Regions from separate parts of the Homo sapiens genome. Here region 2 is linked to region 1. The links are contacts of gene promoters, found by promoter capture Hi-C in blood cells and fetal thymus (Javierre and others, 2016). All regions are on one chromosome and are shown on one strand. The core of a region is centred on a gene start or on the middle of the fragment in contact, and the rest is flanking DNA. Distances in the headings are between cores, read along the strand shown.

Region 1 (3,373 bases), core at 482-2,981:
AGAAATATTAAGAATATAAAAATTATAGTAATTTGCTGATAGTAAATTTTATTAGAAGAGTTTAAATATAACTACATTAGCAGACTCAATAAAAATTTTAAACATAGTGGGTCAAGTATAAATCTCATTGCTATGGTAATTAGCTGTGAAATACATAGATAATAAACCATTGCAGATAGGGGTTTTTGTTTGTTTTCTCACATAATAGGGCACATATGCATCTCTAGGCGGAATGAAAAAGGGCCAGAAATGCTGCTAAAATTGTCAGTTTGAATAACTTTTTGATAGGCTGGCAGATACAAAAGTTTACAAGAAACACTCGATGTGCCAAGTAATCTCCTTGCAAAGTACAAGGACCCAGATGAAAAATCCCAATGATGCGAATCATCCCTGTAATCTCCCAAATCCCATTATGAAGTCTGATTAGAGTAGGCTACAACCCAATTGCAAGTGGGCTTTGCTGTTGATGGAGAGCCAATTCGTGGCAAACATTAGTAAAACCAAGCCATTTATCTACCCGGTTGAATCAGCCTTTGTTGAGGAGTGTGAAACTGTGACCAGCATCACCAACCAGCCCTCTATAGACAGGGACTGCTTTCCTTTCTCCTACACTTGGTTTGTGCCCTGAAGTTGGCTCTGGTACTGCATTGGCATCTTGAGAAAACCTTTTTGCTGGTTTCTAGCAGGAAAGAGAGGAAGGAGGCCCTGACTCCAGGGATGTGGAGGGACTGAGCTGGATTGTCTAGGGAGATCTGTGTTCCTGGGATCAGGCCCTTGAGCACCCAACAGGCAGAAGGTTGTGAAGTGCCCCAAGGACCATCACATCTACCGAAAAATGGTGAATCTGGGGGACTTGGTTTGATCCAGTGAGCCACCAAGAGCAATACTTCCCCTCAGCCTGTGATGAGGACTCACATAGTGGTTGGATTTTTTAAGGACACATGGTGCAGGGGCAACTCTGTAGTTCAGGGGTCATCAAGTTTGAACTATGAGGGACCACATGGCCAATATTTACATTTTGCAGACCAAGCAAGAAAAGGGAAGATATTACGTAGGAACTTACATAACAAGAGAGAAAAAATTGTCACAATGTTTTTATTGATATAATCCAAAATACGGTAATATTTGAGTACAATTATTTGCAACTCACATCTATTAATGAGAGAAAAGGAATTCTTTTGCGGGGGGGATATTTCTCTTAATTGGAGTTCAAAGGCGGTGTCTGCTATCATCACATAAAGTGCAAATGTTCATGTATGAAAACCATGCTTAGCTCTCTGGTACAAACACAGGGAGCTCTCGCGATCTGGCCCATAGGCTGTAGTTTGCAGACCCTTGCTATAGCTGAACACCAGTCGCCCACACTGGGTTTGCGGTGTTCCGGGGTGGGAAGTCGCTCCGGGCTGCGAAGCACCTCGAGGGATCCCCCCGGCCCGAACTCTCCCTCTGTGCCCAGCTAACCGCGGTTCATTGGCTCTCCCCGCGAGGCAGGTCTGGAAGATCAAGAATGAAGCTCGGAGCTCTCTCGCGGAGCAAGGACACCTTCGGGCTTCAGGACCACCCAGGGCGTCCAAAACTGCTGCCAGGGCTGTGCCCCCGCCCCCCGGCACTTTCCAGCTCCCCCTCCACGCCCGCTCTTCCTCCCTCTCTGCCCCCTCTAGCTCCTCCTCCGGCTCCTCCCCCTCCGCTCCTCCCCTTCCCTACATCTAGCCGCCGCGCTTTCCCGCTCCCGCAGCAGCAGCCTCCCGCGTCGCTGTCGCTGTTGCCTCCGCCACCTCCTCCGCCGCCGCGCGCCCCTCGGAGTTCCGCGCCCCACCATGCCCAACATCGTGCTGTTCAGCGGCAGCTCGCATCAGGACCTGTCCCAGCGCGTGGCCGACCGCCTGGGCCTGGAGCTGGGCAAGGTGGTCACGAAGAAGTTCAGCAACCAGGAGACCAGGTGGGGGCCGCGCCGGCGGCCGGGCTAGGGAGAGCGCTGGGCACGCGGCTGCGGGGCCGGGTTGGGGGCCGGCGCCTGCCCGGGCCACCTCCGCGGACGCCGCGCTCCCCCTTCCGGGGCGGGACGGTGGCAACGCGGCCTCCGCGCCCCCGCGCCCGCGCCTGCGAAGAAACCGAGGCGGGGCGCCGCGCGTCCCGATGCGCGCCTCGGCTGTGCCCCCGGTTGCAGGGCCTCCGGTCCTGGGACCGCGGCGACCCGGCGGTCCCGAGCCGCTCCCGGCCTCCCAGCGGTGCCGCCCGGCCTGGCGTCCCCAGCCCGGAAGGGAGACGTCTGGGCGGTCACAGACCGTCGGGGAGAGAGTGGGCGCAGCGGGCGGGAACCGCATCGGGTCAGCGCGCGGTGGAGAGACGTCCTGGGTTGGCTGGTCCCAGTTTCCGCGTCCCTACAAAGCTGAACCTCAGACCAGTGCGTGCGACTAAAGGTTTCCCCCCGTCCCCAACTCTGGTTGCACGCTGGGTTTACCTGGGGACGGTCCGAACGCTGCTTCCCCCGACCTGCCCCCAAGGGTTTGATCCAACGGGCGGAGGATCAGCGATTTTACAAGCTTCCCTGGCTTCTCCTGAGCAGCCAGGGCGCAGACCACTGCGTTATCCAGAGGGTGCAGTTGTGCCAAGGTTTGAAAGACTGTGAGAACCCCAGGACGCACGTGCTGGGCTCCCCTCTGCTCCCACTACTCTTGCTGCTTTAAAGATGATGGACTTTCAGCTTCCTTCTTGTTCTAGGACTCTGCTGTGTCCAGCAACAACGCCGTGATTCGACTGTAACTTTCACCCATTTCTCAAGTCCAGGAGAGCCTCAGGTGGTGGCCATCCTCGGAAGCTGACCTGGGGGGCTCCTTTGTCTATCTGCCTGAGTCCACACAGCTCCTTGACTCATTTCAAATTGGTCTCATTTTTCCCCCTTCTTCCTCCAATGTCTAGTACCGTTAACTGTCCACAGTTACTGATAATTTTTATATCTTTGGCAAAGGTTCAATTTTACCAACATTTTCTAGAAATGGTGTTGGAACAGTTGGACACCCATATGCCAAAAAATATGAACTTCCATCCATACTTTTCACCATTTGTAAAAATTAACTTTGAAGTGGATCATAGACCTAATTGTAAAATCTAGAACTATAAAATTTCTAGCAGAAAATCTTGACTTGGGGTTAGGCAAAAATTTCTTAAGGAGGAGTTATGTTAATACTGATGGGGAAGATGCTATATTTTGGCAAGTCAGCTTTTTAGGATATGTGAATCTTACGTGACTTCTTCCAGGTGGCAAATTCCAGTTATGGCTCCGATGATAATATAAGCGAAGAAACATTGTGAATGAGTGGCAGGTGGACTTTGGCTAAAGAATTCCACTCTGCAGTGTTTAATGCAGAAGTCT
Region 2 (3,373 bases), core at 542-3,041, 1.2 Mb after region 1:
GATGGTTGTTAACAATATCTGTAACTGAACCGTTCACATTTTTTCTTTGGTGCAAGGACACATTTCATTGTTTTATCTTTATTTTATTCATATCCACTTTTTATTGACTAACTCAAGTTTATTTTAAACCAGCAGATAATTCAAAGTCACCTTTGAGATGACTGGGATTTGCTTCCATCCATAATTACAATTTCCATCATAAAAGTATCAACCTCTAGTGGGCAAAACATGTTATTCTACTTTCTGGTAAGGACAAGAGTAATAAACTCGATCTCCATCCCATTTTCTCTGTCAAAAGCTGTAACAAACAGCATTCCAACCCAAACATGGACATGCTCCAATGCTTCTCATTTGTTGTATATATTAGACTAATGGTTGTTTCGTATCTATATTTTTAAAAAGGGTAAAATTTATTTCTGGAGATCAAGCAAAAGTATTCTGTGTGTAATAGAAAGTACTGTCTTAAAAGTATTTGTTTGGATATACTTCTTTCTTTCTTTTCTTTTTCTTTTCTTTCTTTTCTTTTCTTTTTTTTTTTTTTTTTGAGCCAGGGTCTCGCTCTGTCACCCAGGCTGGAGTACAGTGGTGTGATCGTGGCTCACTGCAGCCTCAAACTCCTGGGCTCAAGCCATCCTCCCGAGTTGCTGGGACTACAGGTGTGAGCCACCACACCTGGCTGGATATACTTTCTAATATGCTTAAAGAAGTACACAGTTTAAACAAAAGAAAGGAAGTCAAAAAAATCTGAACAAGTAGTTTAGTGAAGAATCACGGACGAAGATACTAAAGGATATAATATTTTATACAAAGCCCAGTGCTCAGTTCTTGGCATCCAGTGGGGATCAATAAAAGCTAATTCATCATTAGGAAAATGCTGACAATGACAGACAGGAATGAAACTCCCATTCCCAGGTTTCTACGCTTCTGTGTCATTGGAAAATTGTAGGTAAAATGTCATACAATTAGGCCTCACTTAAAACAAAATTGAGAATGAATACTGGTTATAATAGGGAAAGAAGCATTTGTATCTCAGTTAGAGGTACTTAGAAATGGTCTGGTGAATTTTAATAGGAGAGCACAAAAGCTGTTCTAGTTCTTTCTAGTAAGGTGGTAAGAAATTTAAAAAGAAAATTCCTGTTTTTGACTGAAGATATAAGACCTTTATCATAATTCTCTGACCCCATGGACAGGGCCTCAATGCAGAACCAACAGGAAAGTTGTAAGTGCCAGGCATTTCGTTACTCTGTTTAGGTTCATGCTATTTAAGATTTGGGACCTCTAGCACCAAGGACATCTCCAAGATGTGTCCCAGAGGAATGGCAAAAGTATTTTAGGAACCTAGCAGTCTCAGGGACAAGTCCTAGTATACAGAAAGCAGTACAGGAAGTAGAGGTAGGCAGATTTGGTTTGGATCCTAACAGCAAATTACTAGTTGTGTACCACGGAACAAGTCAATTAACCTTTTTAAGGTTCACTTTCCTCATATATAAAATGAGTTTAATACTCTGAGGGACTGCTGTGTAGATCAGAGCACGCACACACACAAGCATGCATGCATACACACTCCATTTGGTAGAGTGTCTAATGGTTAATAAATAGTAGAACTACTATTAGGATAAGCTTTGTTCTGGAACAAAAAAATGTCTTATACTAAAACAACTCCAGAAACTAACATAAGCAAGGTACAGCATCCCCATAGCTTTTCCAGGCTTAGGACTGGATTTGGAATATTACCCTAGCCAATGAAGAATTATAAAATTACTTTATATATTAGAGAAAAAAAATGTAAAAGGCAGGGCAAGGAAAGGAAGCATGAAGAGACAGAGGCCTGAACTTACGTCGTTCTTCTCTATGCCTCTCGGTCTCTGCAAAGTACTGGCGGAGCTCTTCAGTGATTTCCATATTGCTCAGGTCACATTCTACCTCTGCATCTGACTCAGTCTCCATCTCTTCCTCTTTGGACAAAGCTTGGTCTTCTTTTGTGGATGCCTGGATCCTACTGCTGTAACGTGGATGCTGCCCAGATCTTCTGAAATGTGAAGAACTGCAGGGGTAGTCCTGCCAGGCCACATGATGGTCATAGAAGGACTGAGGATACGCAGCCTCATTATCGTAAGAGCTTTGGGGAAGAAGCGCAGAAGGTAAGTACCATGGAAGATTGAAACAGGATTCCACGGCCTTCCTGTAGGCATTGTGATGGCTTTGCATCCAAGCCATTGCTTGATGATAATGTTGCCAGTATCTTGCATATACCGGATGAGAATACCAAGGCCTGGTAGCTTTCGATGTTGATGCCTACAAAATGAAAGGAGGTGGAGGGTGGACACCAAAGTGTTTATTATCCTCAAGAGAAATCTTCAAATGTTTAATCTGCTACCCAACAGGTATTTACTTAGTATTTGCTAAATACCTACCTACATGAGGAGGCTACTGGGCCCAAAATATTGTGTGAGATAGGTCCAGGCCCACAGTGGACACCAAGTGTATGCACACTTGCTAAGTCCATGTACATAAGGTATGCACAAGCCAGCCAATTAAAGCTATGGAGCATTATAATGTGGGGATGAAGGCTAGTGATCGTTTCTAGATGAGACGCAGGGAGAGAGAAGACTGGATGTTTATCACCTTAGCCCTCTCTACCCACTGTAATTAAATGACTACTGCCAACTGAGCAACGGCCTGCTAAGAACCACACTAGACTGACAAGCATGACAGACTTTAGTTTTTCCCTTTCTGCCCCCTAAACTAACTTGCTGGCCTGAGCCACCCCTAAATGCCTGGGGTAAGAGATGTCTAGGAATGCACCCAATAGTGCTTTTACTTTTGTATTTCTTAGGTCTTCTCCATCGTGCAATGAGAATACCAAACTTTAAAGACTAAAATTTACCAGCAAACTATCGCAAGGACAAAAAACCAAACTCCGCATGTTCTCACTCACAGGTGGGAATTGAACAATGAGAACACATGGACACAGGAAGGGGAACATCACACACCAGGGACTGTTGTGGGGTGGGGGGAGGGGGGAGGGATAGCATTAGGAGATATACCTAATGTTAAATGACGAGTTAATGGGTGCAGCACACCAACATGGCACATGTATACATATGTAACTAACCTGCCCGTTGTGCGCATGTACCCTAAAACTTAAAGTATAAAAAAAAAGACTAAAGTTTACCTTTTTTACTTACGAGCTCAAAAAAAAAATAAAAAAATAAAAATCTTACCTTTACCGCTGCCATCTCTGATTGTGAAAGTCCAAATGGGTGCTGAAACTAGGAAAGAAGAATCACAGTGCAAACGTCTGATCAGTATGGCTGTGTGATATTTGTGGCTATTCTATGGTTTGTGAGGCAGCTCCCAAGGAACTGCCTCT

Evidence for each region. The method cuts DNA at HindIII sites, captures the fragments that hold promoters and counts their contacts. A CHiCAGO score of 5 or more calls a contact.
Region 2: a contact is called between a fragment that was not itself captured here and the fragment with the promoter of PRPS2 in region 1, in 1 of 17 cell types (activated CD4 T cells). The highest score is 5.8, in activated CD4 T cells.

What each region holds. Positions count from the first base shown.
Region 1 is chrX:12,789,681-12,793,053 of GRCh38, forward strand. It overlaps PRPS2 (phosphoribosyl pyrophosphate synthetase 2), which reads left to right and starts at 1,732. Exons shown (of 7, transcript NM_002765.5): 1 at 1,732-1,939. The coding sequence starts at 1,818. RefSeq lists a silencer at 1,988-2,437. The HindIII fragment of the contact is 8,457 bases long and covers 1-2,541 here.
Region 2 is chrX:14,018,240-14,021,612 of GRCh38, forward strand. GEMIN8 (gem nuclear organelle associated protein 8) reads right to left here. Exons shown (of 5, transcript NM_001042479.2): 3 at 3,225-3,272; 4 at 1,839-2,295. The coding sequence starts at 3,239. Among named protein-coding and RNA genes, the nearest start is that of GEMIN8, 10 kb to the right of the region's middle. The HindIII fragment of the contact is 347 bases long and covers 1,619-1,965 here.